Regions from separate parts of the Homo sapiens genome. Here region 1 is linked to region 2. The links are contacts of gene promoters, found by promoter capture Hi-C in blood cells and fetal thymus (Javierre and others, 2016). All regions are on one chromosome and are shown on one strand. The core of a region is centred on a gene start or on the middle of the fragment in contact, and the rest is flanking DNA. Distances in the headings are between cores, read along the strand shown. Region 1 holds the start of THAP1 (THAP domain containing 1). Region 2 holds the start of GOLGA7 (golgin A7).

The links. The method cuts DNA at HindIII sites, captures the fragments that hold promoters and counts their contacts. A CHiCAGO score of 5 or more calls a contact.
Region 1: the fragment with the promoter of THAP1 here is called in contact with the fragment with the promoter of GOLGA7 in region 2 in 5 of 17 cell types (fetal thymus, naive CD4 T cells, naive CD8 T cells and 2 more); the score reaches 6.3 in fetal thymus.

Annotation. Positions count from the first base shown.
Region 1 is chr8:42,839,400-42,845,617 of GRCh38, reverse strand. THAP1 (THAP domain containing 1) reads left to right here and starts at 2,293. Exons shown (of 3, transcript NM_018105.3): 1 at 2,293-2,594. The coding sequence starts at 2,524. LOC124901940 (a long non-coding RNA gene) reads right to left here and starts at 2,684. Exons shown (of 2, transcript XR_007060901.1): 1 at 2,235-2,684; 2 at 206-1,851. RefSeq lists enhancers at 2,215-2,574, 1,910-2,700 and a silencer at 2,605-2,694. The HindIII fragment of the contact is 1,565 bases long and covers 1,534-3,098 here.
Region 2 is chr8:41,487,631-41,494,054 of GRCh38, reverse strand. It overlaps GOLGA7 (golgin A7), which reads right to left and starts at 3,473. Exons shown (of 5, transcript NM_001002296.2): 1 at 3,090-3,473. The coding sequence starts at 3,200. RefSeq lists enhancers at 2,843-2,952, 3,003-3,112, 3,403-3,532 and a silencer at 3,583-3,842. The HindIII fragment of the contact is 7,658 bases long and covers 889-6,424 here.

The sequences.
Region 1 (6,218 bases), core at 1,044-3,543, 1.4 Mb before region 2:
ATTAGCCAGGCATGGTGGCGGGTGCCTGTAATCCCAGCTACTTAGGAGGCTGAGGCGGGATAATCGCTTGAACCCAGGAGGCGGAGGTTGCAGTGAACTGAGATTGTGCCACTGCACTCCAGACTGAGCGACAGAGTGAGACTCCCTCTCAAAAAAAAAAACAAAAAAAAAAACAACAACAACAGTGAGGAGACATGAAGAGGGATGGATTTAAGGGGCATTTATTTATTTAGTCTACAAAATTAACCTGGTCATCAACGGGTTTTATGGGTGACAAAAAAAATCCAAGATGACTCCAAGGTTTCTGGTTTAGACAACTGTTGAACAGATAATTCACAGATGATAATTCACAGATGATAATCCCAAAGGCAGAACGGATATACAAAGGAAATAAAAGATGAGAGAATTATGGTATTTGGTTCAGTTTAAGGAGCAGGGTGTTTAGGAGTTAGAGGAGGGCAGAAGATGGAACCCTGGGGAAACAGCAACATTTAAAAGGGCAGGAAAGGTAGAGAATAAGGGCCAAGGGATTACTCAACAGTCCGCTCTCCAGGTCTGCCTGGCTCAGATCTATATAAAGAAAAGGAGCAGGGAATGAAGTAAAACTGTTACAGGAAAGGGGTCCCAATCCAGACCCCAAGACAGGGTTCTTGGATCTCACGCAAGACAGAATTCAGGGCAAGTCCACAGTACAAAGCAAAAGCAAGTTTATTAAGAACGTAAAGTGGTGAAAGTACAGCTACTCCACAGACAGAGTAGGGCATTCCCGAAAGTAAGAGGAGGAACGCGTCCACCCTAAGTACAACACTTAGTTTATATATAGGATAAAAAAAGATCATGGGGAGATGTGCTTTGCTACAAGGGTTTGTGATAAAGGATTAATTACTATATTATGTAAGAATCGATATTATCTTTATTTATGAGACAGAGTCTTACTCTGTCGCCCAGGCTGGAGTGCAGTGGTGCAAGCACGGCTCACTGCAACCCCCGCCTCCCGGATTCAAGCGATTATCCTGCCTCAGCCTCCAGAGTAGCTGAAATTCGAGGGCATGTGCCACCACACCCGGTTAATTTTTGTATTTTTAGTAGAGACGTTTTCACCATGTTGACCAGGCTAGTCTTGAACTCCTGACCTCAAGTGATCCGCCCGCCTCGGCCTTCCAAAGTGCTGGGATTACAGGCGTGAGGCACTGTGCCCAGCCCAATATTATTATCTTTAAAGCAAAATTAGGAATGCTTCTGTTCTCAAAATATCGGGATATCTGGACACTTGGTAGTCTGGGTCTGTGTAGTAAACATTATCAATCTGTTGCCTTAATGGTATACACATCTAGAGGCTAGGAATACCTAACTTCCCGGGAATGCAGCCCAGCAAGTCCCAGCCTCATTTTCCTAGCCCTCACTCAACACAGAGTCGCTCTAGTTCGAACCCCTCTAACATATTCTCTCTCAGGTGTGAAAATTGCTGCAGCAGTTCGCTATTTGCAACACAGCACATGGAAATCACAGCAATGGAGAGCCTTCAGAAAAGCTTCTGGGGAGGGACAGCCTGGTGGCTCAACTCCTGTAATCCCAACCCATGGGGAGGTCGAGATGGGAGGATCCCTTGAGCTCGAGTTCCAGACTGACCTGGGCAACGTGGGGAGACAACGCCTCTATTTATTTAAAAAATTACATATATATATATATATATACATACACACACACATATATACATACACACATATATACATACATATACATACATATATATAAAACGCTTCTGCGTTGGCAATTGAGATGATTTGGCGAGTGTGTCTTTTTTCATTGCTAAAAATCTGTCACGTTGGCTCTCACAGAAACTTGTGATACCTGAAGACACAGGTAATGGGATAAAGATTAGCACTCTGGGAAAAGGTTCCACAATTTTATTAATCATACACCATCTGTGTCCGCCCTTTTAAAGAAATGGGCGCAATCAGCCAACGACCTCGGCTTTACACCTGTTCTCCAAGAGGCCCTAGTTGTTCCCTACTGTAAGCTGCCCCAGAAAAGGTCCGCATCAATTAACCCACGGGAACAGCCCGGGGCTGGAGGATGCCCCAGGAATCCGGCCTCCCGCCGCGCCTCCTCCCCCCACAAGCAGTTCCTTCCTGCCTGCCGGAAGCTCAGGGCTCCGCCCACTTCGGCAACTCTGAAGCCACCGCCGGAAACACCTGGCCTCAGCCAATAGTTAGCTTCCCAGGAAACGTTACCTCTGACCTCGGGGCTAATCAGAGACAGTGGGACGCACCCCTCGCGAGAGGTGAGGTTGAAGCTGCCTCCGCCATCTTGGAGATGGGAGACGGGCGATGGCTGTGGTCCTTCTGCTAATGCAAACAACAAAACGGGCACACTAGTCACCCCCGAGGGAGGCCACCATCACTGTAACTGTTGGCCAAAGCTACAAAAGAAGCGAGGGAATCCAACCGAGCGCAGCGACACTGAGAACAGCTTCCCCTGCCTTCTGCGGCGGCAGAAGTGAAGTGCCTGAGGACCGGAAGGATGGTGCAGTCCTGCTCCGCCTACGGCTGCAAGAACCGCTACGACAAGGACAAGCCCGTTTCTTTCCACAAGTGAGGACCCTGCGCGCCTCGCGGGGCCGGTCTCAGCCGGGGTGGGGGCGCGCGGCCGGCGGGGCCGGGGGCGGAGCCAGGCGCGTGTCCGCGCGAGGGGCGGGTGGGGTCTGGGGCCGGCCGTGTCGGGCGTTTCCCACCGCGTCCCGCTGGGAACCGCCGCCCGATCGCGCGTTCTCGGCGCGCGTCGCCGCGGCAGCCGTTTCTCGCGCTCCTGGAACAGGCCCTGGTTGCAGGCTTCGCTCACGGCCTGGGTTGACGCGTTCGGAGCCCACGGGCGATGCCTAGGGTGGCGCGGGTTTTGCCACCACCAGGGTCACAGAGCAGCCAGGTGTTTTAATATGGTCTTAGGGGTAAATTTAAAATAGAAACAAAGGCCTTTAAACGAAGAAATCACTACTTTTCGCCCTTGCCGTGGATGGGAGGCCAGCATCGTAGCAATTAAGGGTTTTTTGGCTGGGAAATCAGGGAGAATTTTTGCCCCCAATCTCTAGGAACTAAGCTTTAAGGACCCTGTATTTTGGAGAAAGCTTCAGGTACTGCCGAGATAAATCGTTATCTTTTCAGCACACAATAATGATAATATGGACAGTTACAACATGGATCATAATAAAATGACTCACACGGATCTTTATTTATTATGGCATTACCTGTGCATAGAGAAAGCTCTTTCGAAAGAAACTGCCCCACAGCTTTCAGAGCTGTCTTATCCAGTAGGTAGCACAGTTAAGTGATAGGATCAAAAATATTCTCTTGAAAATAGGAAAAAAGTGCAGAGTTGTAATTACTTATGATAAACGCTTGTAAAATGTGACATAACATTTTCATTCAGCTGAATTTGTTTACAAATTTTAATTACATTTATGTTAAGTTTTCTTTGCAAGAATTCCTGACAGCTATACGCAGATGATAGGTAAGAAATCAGATCCAGGGGTAAACTATACAGATTAGCCATAGGTAATTAGCTAATTATCTTTTATAATTAGGTAAATAATTACAAAAGCAAAATGTTAAATATCTTTTCAGTTAATTTATTTTTTTGCTGTGGGGCCATCTGTGTTTACTAGGGGAGTGTCCATGCATTTTTTAAATATGTTTGATATCATGTGAGATGGACCCTATAGAAATAAGAGTGTGTAGAACATAGAGAGGTCTCCAGAGTAATAATGTTACCCCTTGGAGAAGGGGATAGAACACTTAGAGGATTCAGTTCAGGATATCCTAATATTATCTCTTGATTTAATTGGAATTTCTGTAAACATGTTCTTTCTAAATGTAGGGAAAGGTCAGGTGATGGTAACAGGATTACATGCCCAGCTCCCCACCCACATTTCTGATGGCTTGGCAGAAGGAATCTAAAATTATGGAAAATGTTTCATTGGCACTGGAAACTAGTTTAAAGAGGGTATTCACACGTCGGAAATAACTGTTTTTGTCGAGGCACGATGGCTCATGCCTGTAATTCCCAGCACTTGGGGAGGCCAAGGTGGGCGGATCACCTGACGTCAGGAGTTCGAGACCAGCCTGGCCAACATGGCAAAATCCCGTCTCTACTAAAAATACAAAATACAGGCGTACGCCTGTAATCTTAGCTACTTGGGAGGCTGAGGTAGGGGAATCACTTGAACCTGGGATATGGAGGTTGCAGTGAGCTGAGATCTTGCCCTGCACTCCAGCTTGGGTAACAGAGTGAGACTCCATCTCAAAAAAAAAAAAAAAAAAAAAAAAAGATACAACTGTTTCTGCTAGATGTTAAGCAGATATGGATTGAATCAAAAGAAGGGCTAACCTGCATCTTATCCCTTATCTAAAATAGCAGGTTTAGGGAGAGTAGATGGGAAAGATCTTAAGAGAATCTCACAAACAGCTGTAAATTTGTTGTCCTTGAGCCAGGAGGCCCTAGGTACTGAATTTTACCAGCAAATGCTACCATAGTTTATACTTACAGAGCCAGGAGGCCATAGGTACTGAATTTTACCAGCAAATGCTACCCTAGTTTATACTTATAGAGGCCGTTCCAGTTGAGATTTTCTTTCTTTTTTTTTTTTTTTTTTTTTTGAGATGGAGTCTTGCTCTGTCACCAGGCTAGAGTGCAGTGGCACGATCTCAGCTCAGTGCAACCTCTGCCTCCCGAGTTCAAGTGATTCTCCTGCCTCAGCCTCCCAAGTAGCTGGGACTACAGGTGTGCACCACCACGCCCAGCTAATTTTTGTATTTTTAGTAGAGACAGGGTTTCACCATGTTGGCCAGGATGGTCTCCATACTTCGACCTCCTGATCCGCCCTCCTCAGCCTCCCAAAGTGCTGGGATTACAGGCCTGATTACAGGCCATGCCCAGCCCCAGCTGAGATTTTCTAGGAGTACCACTTCTCCCACCCTCTACATAGTGGCAGCGGAGAGTGCTATGTCGTACAAAGAAAAGGGACTGTCATAAAGATCTCTTACTAGCAGAGTCAGGCTCTAGCATATCGTACATGGAAGAGAGACTGTGAAACATAAATTTGAAATTCCCTTCCCTTTTTCTTTCTAATCCCCCCAGTTTACCAAATTCTTAACTTGGAAGAGTAAAATTACCACAATAAATGTAAACTCTCACTATCCCCGTTTACCTGGGCCTAATGGACATCCCAGTTGATTAGAAAATAAATTCTTTCGTTATTATCTGCCTTTAATTCAAATTTAGCCTATTCATATTTGTCAGACTGATGCTAAGAGAACTAGAAGCCCCTTTTTCCCAGTACGCAGATACAAATGTGCAATCTTTGTCTCTCTGTGCAGCACACAGAAAATTACTGGTAAAAAATATGAATACAGGTTATTTTTTTCTTTTTGAGACGGTATGGCTCTGTCACCCAGGCTGGAGTGCAGTGGAATGATCTCAGCTCACCGCAGCCTTGACCTCCCAGGCTCGAGCAGTCCTTCCACCTCAGTCTCAGCCTCCTGAGTACCTGGGCACATACCACCATGCCCAGCTAATTTTTGTGTCTTTTGTAGAGACAGGGTTTTGCCGTGTTGCCCAGGCTAGTCTCGAACTCTTGGACTTAAGTAGTCCCTCGGACAGTGGCCTCCCAAGTGCTGGGATTACAGGCATGAGCCGTGGGCACATTTACTCTATAGTATGTATTTTACCTGAATCTTTTGGTGAACTCAGTATAAAAAGTTAAACGTTAATGAATGAGGGCCAGGCACAGTGGCTCACGCATGTAATTCGAGCACTTTGGGAGGCCAAGGCGGGCAGATCACAAGGTCAAGAAATCGAATCCATCCTGGCCAACATGGTGAAAGCCCATCTCTACTAAAAGTACAAAACTTAGCTGGGCGTGGTGGCGCACGCCTGAGTCCCAGCTACTTGGGAGGCTGAGGCAGGAGAATCGCTTGAACCTGGGAGGCGGAGACGCAGTGAGCCGAGATTGCACCACTGCACTCCAGCCTAACAACAGAGCAAGACGGCATCTCAAAAAAATTTTTAAAAAATTAATAAATGAGATAAATAGATAACTAGAGCTAATCTTTAATCCAATAGGATAATACAATTGTAACATCTTTAATACCAATGTAAGATATTTCCTAAGCTGGAAAGTTTGGGTGCCTTTATTTATTTAAAAAATCAGGACAGATAATTGA
Region 2 (6,424 bases), core at 2,224-4,723:
GTAAATGCCAACAAGTTTTTGAAAGGTTATTTTAAAAAAGGGAAATAAAGGGTAAAAATCACAGAAGGCATCAATAAAGGCAAACGACAAACTTCACAAGAAAGGGCTCAAGAGAACAAATGTTGGCATTTGTATCTTACTACCTTTAGGCTATGAATAACAGTGGCCAGTGTTCTCCCTTAGGTTCCTGGACACTGATACAGGAGCTCTATCAAAATTTAGATATATGAGAAGTCACAGCCAAATAAAATTTGGACCCACAAACATCAAAAATCAGAATGGAAAGAGAAATCAGGCTTATTTTCCCAGAATTACTGTGAACTACACAGTAGAAAGCATGGTGAAGCATGCAGTGATCACGTATCAAGGGTGGCAGGTCAAAGGTAATTACTAACCAGATGGGGAGACATATTTTTAAAGGGAAAAAATGCCTCAATTACAGTTCACTCATTCTTCTACCCAGACCAAGGGTAACTAAGATATCTGTATTTTAAGGCTAATGAGAATAAAGTTTCCTTTAAGGAATTGTTCTGGCAACAAATCGCTTAAGCATCAAAGTATTACATTCTAAAAGGCAGCAGAGAAAATGAACTTGTTAACAGACAGAACCTATCCTACTCCCAAATTAAAGGGCACAAATGTGTGTGTATTTTTAAAAAATGCTTTAAAATAATACAAAACACTTGCATATTAGTCACTTTCTCTATTATGTTGCCAAGTGTGATGTTCTCACAAAAGGAAAATCAGCTCCAATAGCAGAGCAATCAGTAAAATTTCTAGGGTAAGTAGTAGAGAAACAGAAACCTTTCAATTTTTCATCAAAGCAAGGAAAGTTTAAACCTGTAATTTAAATTTAATCTCAACACACATACACAGACAATCAAAGCTTTTCTAGTGGTTTAAAGCATAAGCTAGTGTTTTAACCCAAACATTTAAAAAGAAAAAAGAAATTCAAAGGCACAATTGAAGAGTGCCATGTAACATTCCATATAGTACTCAGTACCACAAGCAGTTCTGGGCTATACAGAGTCAAAGAGGTAAAAGGACTCCAGAATTTAGAAACATCAATTTCCTGACAAGAATCAGTGGAGCACAGTAACTACATTGTGCTTTTGCACTTAGATTACAAAATAAAGGCTCTGCCACACACAGAGTGGAAGGCTAATGTCTGATTCTGTGTATACACATTTAGCTCAAATATATGAGGTGTAAGTGTTGCTTTAAAACCTTAAAGCAAAGGAATCTTTAATGTCCAAATAATTGTGGTAAAAAAAGAATACTTTATATTCTGATTTTGAAGTACATAAATTGTATGTCATAGTTTCCGTAAGAGGCTTAAAAATAAAACATTTGATTGATTCCATGTATATCTTTTTATTTGATTTATTTTTTGAGACAAGAGTCTTGCTCTGTCGCCCAGGCTGGAGTACAATGGCATGATCTCGGCTCACTGCAACCTCCGCCTCCCAGGTTCAAGAAATTCTTCTACTTCAGCCTCCTGAGTAGCGGGGATTACAGGTGCCCGCCACCATGCCTGACTAATTTTTGTATTTTTAGTAGAGATGGGGTTTCACCATGTTGGCCAAGCTGGTCTTGAATTCCCGACCTCAAGTGATGCACCCGCCACGGCCTCCCAGAGTGCTGGGATTACAGGCGTGAGCCACCGGGCCCAGCCAGATTCCATGTCAATCTTAACATGTAAAACACATCAATTGTGATGTTAAATTATTTTAAAACAACATTCAGTAGCTCTACCCAACTGGCCACTTGCTGAATTTCTACCTCTTCAAACCACTGTAGATAGTTCCACCTATTGTCACGCTCAGTTAACTCATAACATAGTTGACAACATACTGCAGCATTTAAATGGCATTTCAGAAACAAGTCACCTCACCATCTTTTAAAGGCATATTTGATCCATTTGCAATTCAAGAAACATATTTGGGCCATGAAGCTGCCCATGGTTATGTCAAACTGAAGGAAACTATAATGGATCATTGTTGATTTCCCAACCATGGAAATCGGGCAGTGCAACCCACCTCACTGCAAACTGACTGTAAATAACTGCTACACATTTCTCTACACAGACTCATCCACACCCACTTATCCCATGACCAGCATCTCTCAGTCCCACACCCAAGGAATGCCTAATCACCTCTCAGGCCCTCGTCCTCCCTGTCACAGAGGAGAGAGCCACAAAACCTGCTTCCAGCTAACCAGAAATTGATCCCTGAACGGGAAACACAATCTACATAACATGGGTCAAGACCAAAAGAATCTTTGGTTGAATGTACATATGTGGGCACACAAAAACACAGGCAGGCACGCACACACTCCATTACCTCTACAACAAGATACAATGATTTTTTTTTTTTTTTTAAAGTTTTGCTAGGTCTGAAGGGGAAGCAAATCCCATTCTTCCATTTTTGCCTGCAATGTTGCCCAAAGGACCTATATCCTGATGACCATTTTGATATGCAAGACAAAACAGGTGGCTCCCAGTGAATGTGACAAGTTTAAGGCCTTGTTCTGAGACATTTTCCTGTCCAGGCCTATCTAACGCCCGACGTCTTTAAGGTTCCAAGAAAGCCTGAACGCACCGCCTGGCCATGCACCTAATAAACCCTTTCAGCCAAACAGTGCGGCCAGCACAGAGGCAGCAAACACCAGTCACGAGAATGATGATGATTTATCTTGCGCGGAGAGGTAGGAGGATATAGTTTACAACCTGGTGACTGAGACGACCTGGAGCCTCAGGAATTGGCTCCTCATCGCTGCCGACAATAACCCGGGGTGGGGATTTGGGGGAGTGCAGCAGGGGAACACTGCTGGATCCAGATTCCCGGCACCGGGCAACAAAGTTCCATAAGGTCGTCAACCCCGGCGATCGGCCTATATTATTCTTCCTGCTCCAAACACCTGTCTTGCTTAGTGGCTCTCTTCTTACACGTTTGGCCAAGGCCCCTTCTGTGCCTGGACCTCCCCAGAACTGCGGGACCCTCAAAGGCCCGGTTGTCGCCCACACCCTTCCCGTCCCCGGTGAGTCTCTCTCCCTCGCCAGAGCAGGCGTGGGGAGCCAGGTTGCGTACCCGGTTCTCCAGCTCCGCAGGGAACTTGGTCTGGAACTGGCAGCGTGTGCCACTGCTGTAGTCTCGCTGAATGAACACCTTTCCGGACACCGGCGCCTGCTGCGGCCTCATGGCGAGGACAGGACACCCCGCGCTGCGGGGTCGGGGGAACACCAACCGCGAGTCAGAGCCCCGGCCTGGACCCGGGACTCTGACCCGCCAGCCCCTCGCCCCCACCCGCCGCCGAAAACAGCCCAAGGCCTCCTCTGCCCCGCTCCCCTTCACCCATGCTGTCACCGCGGGCCTTAGCTGCCGCCTGGCCCAGGCCCCGCGCCCCCCACAACCCGGTTCGGCCCGGGAAACACAAACCCGCCTCCTCTGCCCTCCAGCTGCTGTCGCACCGCCTTCGCCGTCACTTACGTCCTGCCGCAAAAAGCCTCTTCCCCGCCCCTCAGCTCGGCCTCCTACCTCAGGTCTGGGACCCACCCTCTCCTCCGGCCGTAAAGCCACCCTGCCGAAGCTGCGCGCTGTGGGGCTGGGCCGAGGAAGGGAAATGATGTGGGCGGGGCCAGGGCCGACCCCGCCTTCCGCCCGCGCGGGGATTGTTTCCGGAAGGAGAGAGGCGGGGCGAGCTGTGGGGCTGCGGCCGGGGCGAGCTGTGGGGCTGCGGCCGGCGCGAGCGCGCGGGGGTGTGAGGGGCGGAGTTTCCCGGCTGTGTCACTTCCCTAGTGATTGTGGCAGGTGGTTCCCGATCACTGATTGTGAGGGGTCATTTTCGTTCTTGATTGGACGTCGCAGCTTACGTGTGGGTTATGCCACCCAACTCATACACAAAACAAAAAACAAAACATAAAGAAAAAACAACACCCCCTCCCCAAACCCTCAAACACAAACTGCTCATTGTGTTCAGAAGTAGAAAGCAGGCTCCAAGGATGGATCCATTTGGTCCCTAGACTCTTGAGAAAGGGTCAGGAAGTGAGGACGAAGAACCTGCCTGGGCCCCAGCGTTGGGCGCCCCTGCCCCGACTCTTCTTTGGGGGCGGCGTTCCTCTCACCCCCCATTTCCACCCAGCTCCCATCCACATCCCTCAGGTGACCAAGGGGACAAGTGGTTCCGCCCTCGTTGCCCACTGGCCCTTACTTGACTCAGCATTTCTTTGCAAGGCAGCCAAAGAAACCCCACCTTACCCTTGTCTCCTGCTAATACAACCTGTTAGTACCACTGTCTTTTATATATTTAATATAGTTTAAATATCCTGCCTTTTAAATATGAAAAATTCTCTTACTGTATTTTAAAAACAGCTTTTTCGAGATATAAATGGCATACAATAAACCACACATTTAAAGCAGTGGATTTGATAACTTTGGACATATGAATACACCCATAAACCACTGTCACAATCAAGATAGTAAAGCTCCATTGCCCTGAAAAGGTTCCTCCAGCTCCTGTGTAATCTCTCCCTCCTGCCTCTCCCAGACCCCATTTCCCAGGCACTGATCCACCTTCTGTCACTCAACATTAGTTTCATTTCCTTGAATTTTATATAAATTGAATCATATAGTGTGTACCCCCTTTTTTTGCCTGGCTTCTTTCACATAGACTATTTTGAAGTCCATCTGTTGTTGTGTTATCAATAATTCATTTATTTTTGATGCTGGATAGCTATTCCATTGTATGGCCATCCCACAGTTTGTTTATCCATTCATCTGTTGATGGACATTTGGATTGCTTCCAGTTTTGGGATGTTACAAATAAAGCTGCTATGGACATTCATTTGCAAGTCTTTGCATAGGTGTGTAGACCTTAATGCTTTCATTTCTCTTGGGTACATACCTAGGAGTAGAATGGCTAGATTGTACGGTAAAAACACGTTTAACTTTTTGGCAGACTGACAAACTGTTTTCCAAAGTGGTGACACCATTTTGCATTCCCACCAGAGTTCCAGTTGCTCCACATCTTTGCCAAGACTTGGGTAGTAATATCTTCTGCAGCTATAATTTTCATTTTTCCATGACTAATTATTTTGAACATATTTTCCTGTACTTATTTGCCATCCATGTATCTTCTCTGGTGAAGTGTCTATTTAAAACTTTTGCCCATTTTTTTGTTTGTATTTTATTTTCCTGTTGTTGAGGGGTTTTTTGTTTTATTTTGTTTTGATTTACATCTTTATTGGCTGGGCTTAAGGTCAGTTTTAAATTTTTAAGGCACTTTAATTCTTGGATTTTTGTATGTTTAAAGATGTTTTCCTGAGGCCTTTATACTTGCGTGAGAACTTGGCCGGGCTGTTTTTGAGTTTTGAGTTCTTTATACATTCTGGAGAAAAATCCTTTATCAGATATGTGATTTGCATGCATTTTTCACAGTCTGTGATTTGTCTTTTTACTCTCTTAACACGTTAGGGGTTTGAGGGGATTAGGGTGTGGACCTCTTGGGGAGGGCATTTCTGCCTCCCATAGGTATAGAGTGAAACTCTTCCCTCCCCCCGTATGATTATGCAGTTGTTATTCAGTTGTTTACGTACCATTTGTTGAAAAGACTCTCATTTCTTCACTGAATTGCCTTTGTATCTCTGTTGAAAATCAGTGGGGGCCGGGCGCGGTGGCTCACGCCTGTAATCCCAGCACTTTGAGAGGCCGAGGCGGGCGGATCACGAGGTCAGGAGATCGAGATCATTCTGGCTAACACGGTGAAACCCCGTGTCTACTAAAAATACAAAAAATGAGCCGGGCGCCGTGGCGGGCGCCTATAAGTCCCAGCTACTCGAGAGGCTGAGGCAGGAGAATGGGGTGAACTCGGGAGGCGGAGCTTGCAGTGAGCGGAGATAGTGCCACTGCACTCCGGCCTGGGCTAAAGAGCGAGACTCTGTCTCAAAAAAAAAAAAAAAAAAAAAAAGAAAAAGAAAATCAGTGGTGTGTGTGTGTGTGTGTGTGTCTGTCTGTCTGTCCCTCTGTCTGCCTGTTTTGGACTTTCTATTCCGTTTCATGATCTGATCCTGTTTTGAATTAAATGTCTACTAGTGTTTGTCTCCGAAGTTGATGCTTCCTTACTAACTCAGTAAGATCTCCTAGGAGCTGGTTTTCTACATATTTGTTACTAGGGGTTGAGAACACCCTTAAACAGGTAAAACAGTCTCTACCCTCAAAATTTCAGTCTAATGGAGTGAACGAAGAAAACAATTTTCATACATTGTATATTTGGAGTATTTTCCTGCAGCCCTTGGCCACTGAGACTAGGTGGTAAAACAGACTATTATTATTATTTTTTGAGATGGATCTCACTCTGTCGCCCAGGCTGGAGTTCAGTGGCACGATCTCGGCTCACCACAACCTCCGCCTCCTGGGTTCAAGCCATT